3 separate regions of the Homo sapiens genome follow, and regions 2 and 3 are each linked to region 1. The links are contacts of gene promoters, found by promoter capture Hi-C in human tissues and cell types (Jung and others, 2019). All regions are on one chromosome and are shown on one strand. Each heading gives the region's core, a stretch centred on a gene start or on the middle of the fragment in contact. The rest is flanking DNA. Distances are from core to core; before and after follow the strand shown.

What was found. Contacts are between HindIII fragments. The study calls those that stand out against the background at their distance.
Region 2: a fragment that was not itself captured here is called in contact with the fragment with the promoter of HNRNPAB in region 1 in 1 of the 25 tissues and cell types used here (lymphoblastoid cells).
Region 3: a contact is called between the fragment with the promoter of KIAA1191 here and the fragment with the promoter of HNRNPAB in region 1, in 1 of the 25 tissues and cell types used here (spleen).

The regions. Positions count from the first base shown.
Region 1 is chr5:178,202,342-178,205,805 of GRCh38, reverse strand. It overlaps HNRNPAB (heterogeneous nuclear ribonucleoprotein A/B), which reads right to left and starts at 1,273. Exons shown (of 8, transcript NM_031266.3): 1 at 1,066-1,273; 2 at 760-991. The coding sequence starts at 968. RefSeq lists silencers at 300-709, 740-849, 870-1,089, 1,390-1,459. The HindIII fragment of the contact is 21,768 bases long and covers 1-3,464 here.
Region 2 is chr5:179,519,446-179,522,893 of GRCh38, reverse strand. LOC128966623 (a long non-coding RNA gene) reads right to left here and starts at 437. Exons shown (of 5, transcript NR_185480.1): 1 at 190-437. It overlaps LOC100289470 (chromosome 5 open reading frame 60-like), which reads right to left and starts at 398. Exons shown (of 4, transcript NR_171571.1): 1 at 190-398. The HindIII fragment of the contact is 4,239 bases long and covers 1-3,448 here.
Region 3 is chr5:176,360,033-176,363,375 of GRCh38, reverse strand. KIAA1191 reads left to right here and starts at 1,612. Exons shown (of 9, transcript NM_020444.5): 1 at 1,612-1,774. RefSeq lists an enhancer at 1,537-1,856. The HindIII fragment of the contact is 20,486 bases long and covers 1-3,343 here.

The DNA.
Region 1 (3,464 bases), core at 24-2,523:
TGTAAGCAAGCTGTGATTTTGGAAAGGACTGGCCCTGGCAAAGTTCTCACGAAGTCTACAGCTACCCTTAGAGTCTGCAAGGAGCACCTTAGAAAGATGTTAAATCTCCACTACCCTCCAAATTGAACTCAACCAGGACCCTAACGAGGCTTAACAAGGCTCTGCAGCCCCAGCCTGTGAGAAGCAAAGAAGGGACCACCTCACCAGGGGTATGGGACCTAACCACTCATAACTGGAAATTCATGTGTTCTACAACCATGTAGCAAAGGGCCAGCGTCTCCACCAACTCCTGAGAACTCGTTTCAAGGAACTCGATGTTTCCGGGGACCAAGCCCGCCCAGGGTTCAGACCGTGACTCCGCCCCCGGGAGAGGCGGAGGAGGGAGGTCCGGGCCCCGGCTCGCGCCAACTCCGCCCACGCAGCCGCCGGCGCGGCCCAAGACGCCGCCGGGCCCCGGGTCCGAGCGCTTTCCCTCTTCCGGGCCATCCGCCCGCCCCTGCGCCGGCTCCGGCCCTGGCCCTGGCCCTGGCAGCGCGCGAGCGGCCCCGGGGCGGCGCCAAAGTCGACCCAACAAACTCCCGCAAACTCCAGCGCGAGTGGCAGCGCCAGGCCCGGCCCGCGAACGCAGCGGCGACAGTCCGCGGGCCGCACCAGCCCCGACCCGGGCCAGGCCGCCGCCCCTCCCCCCGCCGCGTGGCGCCAACAAAAGGCGGCCCCGGAACAAAGGCGGCGCCCCCGTCCGCCCGCGGCCGCACCTACCCCGCGTCCTCCTCGTTCTTGCTGGCGTTGATCTGGTCGCCCTCGGCGCCGTTCTGATTCCCGCTCGGGGGCGCCGCGGTCGCGCCTCCAGCCCCCGCCGCGGCGCCCGTGCCAGCCCCGGCCGGCGACTCGCCTTCGGGGACGGCCTCATGTCCGTTCTCGGTGGCGCCCGTCGTCTCCATGGGCTGCTCCTCGCCCGCTTCCGACATGCTAGGCCGAGGCGCGGCGGCTCCTGCAACCAGCGGCGACAGCGCGTCAGGCCGGCGCGGCTCCCGCCAGAGCTCCCGCCCGCCGGCCGCCGCTCACCTCGCCGCCGATGACGCCGCGGGGCCCGCTCGTCCCCACCCGCAGGGGAAGGCGCCGCAGGCTCGGCCGCACTCAAGCTCGCGCTGCTGAGGCCTCGCCCCAGTCAGCCCACGGAGCTGCTCCAACTGTGTCTCCTCCTCCTTGGCCGCCGCCGCACGGGAACCCACCGACCAACAGCCAAGCTCCGTCCCGCGCGGTGCCGCCGCCTGACAATGCCGACTCGTGGCGCCCTTTATAATGCCGGAGCCGGGTGCCACATCGCAACAAACTGCACACTCATTGGCTGCTCAAGTCCGTCACTCAACCTAGCTTCAGCGTCCCATTGGCCGCCACGGCGCGCGCGCTCTAGACCTGGGCGGGCTTTGTCCTCATTTTAGAACGCGCGCGAGTCCGGCCGCTACGGAGGGCTCCCGAAGCCGGGCGGGACGGCGCCGGGTCCAGGGCGGCGGGCAGCTACAGCACATCGGTGGGAGGGCCTAATCGGATTGTAAGCTCGTCGAGGCCGCTGGTCTCTTGCTCTCGAGGACTCCATCCCAGCATTGGCAGCCTCCGCCTCCCCATGTCCCAAAAGAGGAAACTGGGCTGGAGAAAGTTTCGCAGCCCAAGGACGCGTGGCTGGAAGTGGCAGAACCCGGGCTTCCGAGGTTGGGCGAGTGGGGTCCTCCAAGGCCCTCAGCACGGGTCGGAGGGATTGGGACTGAACCCGCCATCCCCCTGGACCTTGGTGCCCTCCAAGCCCCGCGCTCGCGCCCTGTCCGTCGCCTCCCCCAGAGATGCTCTGCAGGGACGATGAGACCTTGGTGTTCCCCGGTTCTCTGTCCCCTGGCACCACCTGAACGATTGACATCGCATTTGTACTTTTGTTTACTTAAATTTTTTCCTGTAAATCATTTGTCTTTCTTTTTCTTCCTTTTTATTATTTTTTTTTTTTTGATGGAGTCTTGCTCTTGTCGCCCAGACTGGAGTGCAATGGCGCGATCTCGGCTCACCGCAACCTCCGCCTCCCGGGTTCAAGCGATTCTCCTGTCTCAGCCTCCCGAGTAGCTGGGATTACAGGCATGCGCCACCACGCCCGGCTAATTTTTTTGTTTTTTTAGTAGAGACGGGGTTTCACCATGTTGGCCAGGATGGTCTCGATCTCCTGACCTCGTGATCCGCCCGCCTGGGCCTCCCAAAGTACTGGGATTACAGGCGTGAGCCACCGCGCCCGGCCTTTTTTTTTTTTTTTTTTTTTTTAAACAAATACGGAGGCCGGGCGCGGTGGCTCCCGCCTGTACTCCCAGCACTTTGGGAGGTCCAGGCGGGCGGATCACGAGGTCAGGAGATCGAGACCATCCTGGCGAACATGGTGAAACCCCGTCTCTACTAAAAATACAAAAAAATTAGCCGGGCGTGGTGGTGGGCGCCTGTAGTCCCAGTTACCGGGAGGCTGAGGCAGGAGAATGGCGTGAACCCGGGAGGCGGAGCTTGCAGTGAGCCGAGATCTCGCCACTGCACTCCAGCCTGGGCGACAGAGCGAGACATCGTCTCAAAAACAAAACAAAACAAATACACCACTCGTGAACTCACGAGGTAAAGGACAGGGTGGGGGCGTTGTTCTCTTCCTAATACACAAAACTCCTTTATATTATCTCCTTGACCACAAAATTTTAAAGGCCTCGGTAATCCCGTTATTCCTTTTAATCATATGGGTGGTGGGCCCCAAGGCAAGCAGGATTACAACCTCTGGAGCCTGCAGGTTACCAAATAGCAACCCAGAACACAAGGAACTAGCGTTTCCAGTGGATTCCTGCAGCCAGGACCAGTGTGGTGGGCTGGGCATTCCATTTTCTCTTCTGTATCTTAACAACCAAAGTAAGGTGGTATGGTCACCAATTTTATTTATTTTATTTTTTGACACAAGGTTTTGTTCTGTAACCCAGGCTGGAGTCCAGTGGCACGATCACGGCTTACTGCAGCTTCAACCTCCCGGGCTCAAATGAGCCTCCTGCCTCAGCCTCCCAAGTAGCTGGAACCAGAAACGTGGCCACCACGCCAAGCGAATTTTTTGTAAACACAGGGTCTCCCTATGTTGCCCAGCTAGATCACCAGGTTTTTTTTTTCTTTGAGACGGGGGTCTCGCTCTGTCGCCCAGGCTGGAGTACAGTGGAGCCATCTCAGCTCACAGCAACCTCCACCTCCCAGGTTCTAGCGATTCTCCTGCCTCAGCCTCCTGAGTAGCTGGGATTGCAGGTGTGTTCCACCATGCCGGGCTAATTTTTGTATTTTTAGTAGAGATGGGGTTTTACCATGTTGACCAGGCTGGTCTTGAACTCCTGATCTCAGGTGGATCACCAATTTTAAATGAGAAAACTGAAGTCAAGAGCAGCGGCCCAAAGCTACACAACCAACTCAGGCAC
Region 2 (3,448 bases), core at 706-3,205, 1.3 Mb before region 1:
CTCCACAGATGGTCTGGGGGCTTGGGTTGGAAATCCTATGCCCACTCCAACCCCTGCCTGCCCTGCTGTCCCTAGAGGGATGATGAGAGTTCCCATCACAGGAGCGCCTCTGGTTGATGTGGAAAAGTGGAAAAGAGAGCAGGAAAAATAGAAGCATTCTCTGCTGGGTGTGGGCTGAGGGCTCCTTACATTCTCGCTGTCCTCCTCTCTGGGAGGCACTGAGGATGGCTCCCTGGGAATGTAGGGGCATAAGATGATCAGGATCACCAGGCTGAACACAATGAAGAGGACGAAATGGATGATCTGGGGAATGGGGCTGGGGCACAGCTCTGTCTCAATAACACTGTGCAGAGGAAAGAGAATATCCATGTCAACTGCACTGCTGTCCTCAGGCAGCTGAGCCCTGGGCATCCCCTCTGGGACAAGTTACTGGGGCCCAGGTCCACATCACAGAGCTGGGGCCTCCCCCTCACAAAGGGCTCCTAAGGGTGGGGTGGGCAGTGGGAGGAGGAGGCTAAAGCCCAGCCCCGCCCACCACCACCCACCCCTGCAGTTCCCTCCACCCTCCTGGCCTTCCGGATCCCTCCTTCCCACTCCACCTTCTCAACCTGTCAGAGACAGACCTGGCCCGTTTTCCGTCCTCTCACCCTGGCACACAGATGATACCTGGTTCATTGGAGAACTCTGCTCAGACTCCCTCAGTTTCACAGTTTTTGAGGATCTGGATTTGTCCCCGAAATTCCTGTTATTTCCAGGGATTATTGCTCCAGGGTCTCCTCTGCCTGCAATTCTAACCTCCCCACACAATATGTTCTTGCCTTGCTTCAACTCAGACATAGAGCTTACATTTTTATACTTGTTTATCATTGTGAGTTTTGAATAAATTTTTATAATTTTTGCTTCAATTAATCTTTACTGTCTTCAGCTAGACTTAATCAAAAATTAAATCAATTCTTTATTATTAAAATTCATAGGACTAAAAAAGTATAAAATTGAACTAAACCTTCAAAGAATATTTTTATATATTTGCAATATTTTTGCTTCTAAAATCAATAAAAGTTAAAGTGCATGAGAAATTTTGGAATATTTGGCATACACACACACACATACACACACACACATATACACACATACCCTGTGACAAATCAATTCAGTATTTTCAAATAGAAGAATCAAGCCTTTCTTTCAGTTCAGAAGCTTTCTTTTAGTGTTTCTTATGAGGTAGGATGGCTGGCAGCAAATTTTCTGTCTTTATCTGGGAATATCTTTATTTTTAAAAGATAGATTTGCTGGACATGGCATTTTTAGTTGACAATTTTTTTTCTTTCATTCTTTGACTATGCCATCCCATTGCCTTCCCATCATTCATTCATTCATTCTTTTTCTTTCTTTCTTTCTTTCTTTCTTTCTTTCTTTCTTTCTTTCTTTCTCTCTCTCTCTCTCTCTCTCTCTCTCTCTTTCTTTCTTTCTTTCTTTCTTTCTTTCTTTCTTTCTTTCTATTTCTCTCTCTCTCTCTCTCTTTCTTTCTTTTTGAGACAGAATCTCCCTCTGTTTGTTGCCCAGGCTGGAGTGCAGTGGTGTGATCTCAGCCCACTGCAAACTCTGCCTCCCAGGTTCAAGCGATTCTCTGGCCTTAGCCTTCAAGTAGCTGGGATTACAGGTGTGCACCAACATGCCTAGCTAATTTTTTCTTTTTTTTTCTCTTTTTTTGAGATGGAGTCTCACTCCGTCGCCCAGGCTGGAGTGCAGTGGCGAGATCTTGGCTCACTGCAACCTCCACCTCCCGGGTTCATGCCATTCTCCTGCCTCAGCCTCCCAAGTAGGTGGGACTACAGGCGCCTGCGACCACGCCTGGCTAATCTTTTGTATTTTTAGTAGAGATGGCATTTCACTGTGTTAGCCAGGATGGTCTTGATCTCCTGACCTCGTGATCTACCCACCTCGGCCTCCCAAAGCTCTGGGATTACAGGCGGGAGCCACCGCGCCTGGTCTAATTTTTGTATTTTTAGTAGAGATGGGGTTTCACCATGTTGGCCAAGCTGGTCTCGAACTCCTGACCTCAGGTATTCCACCTGCCTTGGCCTCTCAAAGTGCTGGGATTACAGGCGTGAGCTGCCGTTCATGGTCTCACCATTGTTTCTGATCAGAAATCAGTGGCTAATTTTATCGTGGTGCTCTTGTACATGAGGAGAAGTTTTTGTCTTACTGTTTTCAATATTTGCTCTTTGTGTTTTCGTAGCTTGACACAAGGTGTGTAGGAGTGGATATATTGGTATTTATTTTACTGAAAGTAAACATTGATTCTATAGATTAATGTTTTATATCAAATTTGGTAAGTTTTCAGCCATTATTTCTATAAATAATTCTTTCTTTCCCCTTTTCTTTCTTTCTGAGACTCTCATTCTACATATGTTGTGCTTGACGTTTCATAAGTCATTTTTCTTTTTCTTTTTTGTTTGAGACAGAGTTTCGCTCTTGTTGCCCAGGCTGGAGTGCAATGGCGTGATCTCGGCTCACTGCAACCTCTGCCTCCCAGGTTCAAGCGATTCTCCTGCCTCAGTCTCCTAAGTAGCTGGGATTACAGGCATGCACCTGTAACCTCAGGTGATTTGCTCGCCTCGGCCTCCCAAAGTGCTGGGATTACAGGATTGAGCCACCGTGCCTGGCCCTTTTTAAGTTCTTTTAACATAAGTAACTGCTTTGAAGTCTTTGTTTGCTAAGTGTGACATCTGGGGACACAAAGACAGTTTTCCCCCACACTTGCCTGTTTCTTTTTGTCTTGTAACTTATCATTGAACACTGGATACTTTAGGTTATAGACTCTTCAACTCTGGATTCTGAATCTTTTCCGCTGAGAGTTGTTACTGTTTGTTCGTTTGTTTGTAACCAGCCTGTACTAAATTTGTAAATTCTGTGAGCAGCGTGTATCCGGAGCCGTCTCTGCTCATTTTTTGTTTGTTTCTTATGCATGGCTTCCCAGGAACCGCTCCTTTATCTGCGTGCTTGGTATTCTGCCAACAGTTGTCTGAATTTGTACACGAACACCTTGAGTCGGTGAGGCTTCCACTGTTGCTGATGGATCTACCCGTGGACTAGGGCGTGCACACACAGCTCAGGCCATCTGCTTTCCACAGGCATCTCCCCTCGCTGTGTCTTCTCTTCGCATGAGCTCAGGAACCGTCATCTGTCAGTGATGCTGGGTGGTTTGGGCAGGTTCTGGTCTCTGAGGAGAAGAGCAGAGCTACTGGTCCTTCCTGTTTGTTTGCATCAATATCCCTATTTGAAAATTCTCCAAATCATGTGAGTCCCTCTGGTGGTGACAGCAAAGCTGCTGGTTTCATGGTGTTCAACAAATGTGTTTTATATTTAGGTCTATGGGCCGGGAGTGGTGGCTCAGGCCTGTAATCCAAGCACTTTGGGAGACTGAGGTGGGCAGATCACCAGAAGT
Region 3 (3,343 bases), core at 363-2,862, 1.8 Mb after region 1:
GCCACAGGCGGTCTCTCAACCCATGTACCCTACAGCCAGCCGTACATGGCGTCACCCCTCTGGAGAGCCAAAAGAACCCGACTGCTGTACTCAGGTCGTTTCTCCTGTTCTTCCTCCTCGTGCTACACACGTGGAAGCCTTGGCAGTCACTGGGGGTACCTAGGACAAGGCAGACTGCAGCCTCCGTCTCCCAGGTTCAAGAGATTCTCCTGCCTCAGTCTCCAGAATAGCTGGGATTACAGGCACCTGTCACTACGCCTGGCTGATTTTTGTATTTTAGTAGAGACGGGGTTTCGCCGTGTTGGCCAGGATGGTCTCGAACGCCTCAGCCTCTGAAAGTGTTGGGATTACAGGCCTGAACCACCGTGCCCAGCCAGAAAAAGTTGTTTTAATCAAATAGTAACTTCCAGGAAAGTCTTAAGTTTTCATGTATTTGTGGCTAAGAAATAAATGAGATGATCCCACCTTATGATCTACATAAGGGTGCAAAGTGCTATTTCTTCCTTTTCTGACTGAGAGGTGATATACATCCCTTCCTGTGGTGGATAAAGAGCAAGGTGCCAGCTTTGCTTCCACAGAGGTTAAAAAATATGGCATATTTTAAAAGCTCCAAATTAACAAAGGAACACCTTTAACACACACACGCACGCACACATATACACACAATTATACTGCAATGTAATTGTGCTGTTGATAAGCTAATTATAGAATTCATCAAAGACTTTAATTCTTAGTGCACTCAAGCACCCTGGTCTGGAAACAGCGCTTAAGTTTCAAGTCGCATGAGCAAGGCCTCTCAGTTCTGCCAGTACGGCTGGAAGCCTCAAATGCTGAAATCTAAATGTGACATTCACCCTGCACCACCAATCATAGCTCTCCTGAGATGAGTTTTGATGGCGAGCTTTGGACTGGGGTAGAAACGTGGATAGATTTTTGCAAATTCTGCTGTAACTTCGTTGCTTCGCCTTCTTTGTGAACCCTTCAGGGATAAGAGAAGTCTTCCTTCAGGATGTGACTGACACCTCAGCTGGCGCCTCTAAGCCTCACTCTCCTTTATGTAAAAGAGAAATGATATTAGGATCGCCTTCCCTAGGGGAGGCAGGTGAGGTCGGTTCCCTTTTTTGGTTCAGCTACTAGTACGAACCCTGCCTAACCCCGCTGTTTTGGGAGACAGTCCGTGCTCACTGCACCGCTTGCTAATCGAAGTGACTTCTCATCTCTCCCAGTCTCAGCTTCACCTCCGTGAAGTGGGAAAAACAGGATGACAAGTGCTCGCACTTGGCAGCCCTTTTTGAGCCTTGAGGGCTTGGGTTTGTGGGTGTCATTTTACTATGCTACCTCCGTCTTCCCTTAGCTTGTCACGGACCCAGGCACAGCACACGCGCTGAGGAAGTGGTGGTGAAGTGTGGCGTTTCCTCTCGGGGCTGGCGGATTCCACACTCGGAGCTGCGGCTCCACAACTCGCTGGGCGGCGAAGGGCATGGGGAGGGGGCGGGTCTCGCGATCGTGGACAACAACTCCCAGCATGCCCTGTGCTCCGCTGGGCCAAGTCTCGCGCGAGATCCCGCGGTCTCCGGAGGCTTTATCTGCAGTGCTGCCTGCCCGCTGGGTGGTACTGCTACCTAGTGGGTCTTGGGGACCTTCGAAATCGCCGCCGCTCTCACAATGGCTTGGGTCCAGACTGCGCCACAGCCTCTCGGGAGACGTGGGCCCTCGGAACCTTTTTAGTGCCGGACTCCGGGCCGCAGGCAGTCCCGCGGCAGCAGGATCACAGGTGAACAGATGGCGGGCCTGGGCCCTCCCTTGGGGCTGCGTTCTCTGGCGATCAGGAGGGGCGCTTCCGGCGAGGCCCGATCTCGGGGCCCCTCCAAGCCACTCCCCTCTCCCCGCACCTCTTAACCCTTCATCCCGGCTTCGAGCTCGGCTGGGTCGCCTCTTGCCTCCCTGGCTCCGCTCTCTGGGGTCTCCGTAATGGGGCTTCTCTCCGGGAATGCCCTGCAGCTCCCGTACGGGCTTCCCCTCCGCTTCGTGGGACCAGCCCAGCCCGAGCCCCCGCGGCTTGTCCTCAACCTCATCTCCCCACACCCCGCCTTCGGCTAGGGTCCTGGCCCTAATCTTAGCCTGGAGGGGTGGGTGAAGCAGCCGGCCTTTCGTATCCTGGCGGCACCGTCTTGTATATTGTGAAGGAGAGGCAGAGGGACGGTGAGCTGGGGGGTGGGGGCACAGGGAAAGGGAAAGGGGAAGGGGACGTGTCTGGGGCGGGAATGCTCCCTGGACTGGGAGGATGGCTGAATTCGGCCTTTGCGATGCTCGTTAGTGAAGAACTATCAATAACTTGTTTGCTCTGTCTGAGTCCTATCGGGATAGAGGGACGGTGTAGCAAGCTGAAAAACAAGAGTAACTTTCTCAGGCCCTCGTTTTAACTCCCCTGTAAACTGGGCATGAAACTACCTACCTTGCGCACGGACCACTTATCTGTGACCGTGGACAAATTTACTTAACTCCTCTGATTTTTAGTTTCCTTCTCTTTATTATTATTTTTAACATTTTTTTAATTTTTTTAATTTTTATTTTTGAGACCGAGTCTCACTCCGTCGCCCAGGCTGGAGTACAGTGGCTCGATCTCGGCTCACTGCAACCTCCGCCTCCCGGGTTCAAGCTATTCTCCTGCCTCAGCCTCCCGAGTAGCTGGGATTACAGGCGCCCGCCACCATGCCCGGCTAATTTTTGTATTTTTAGTAGAGATGGGGTTTCACCATGTTGGCCAGGCTAGTCTCGAACTCCTGACCTCAAGTGATCTGCCCGCCTGGGTCTCGCAAAATGCTGGGATTACAGGCGTGAGCCACCGCACCCGGCCAGTTTCCTTCTCTTTAAATTTGGGATAGCCTTTCTGTAAGAGATAGCTTAAAAAAAAAACTGGGGTCGGGCGCGGTGGCTCACGCTTGTAATCCTAGCACTTTGGGAGGCCGAGGTGGGCGGATCGCAAGGTCAGGAGATCAAGACCATCCTGGCTAGTGCGGTGAAACCCCATCTCTACTAAAAATACAAAAAATTAGCCAGGCGTGGTGGCAGACGCCTGTAGTCCCAGCTACTTGGGAGGCTAAGGCAGGAGAATGGCGTGAACCCGGGAGGTGGAGCTTGCAGTGAGCCAAGATCGCGCCACTGCACTCCAGCCTGGGCGACAGAGTGAGACTCCGTCTCAAAAAAAAAAAAAAAAAAAAATTGGGATTGGGATAAATAATATCTGCTTTGCCATCTTGCTGCAAGGATTAAAAGACAAGATAAACGCTGTAAATAGTTTATAGTGTTAGCTATAAAGAACAAATTTCCCTACTGTAGTATC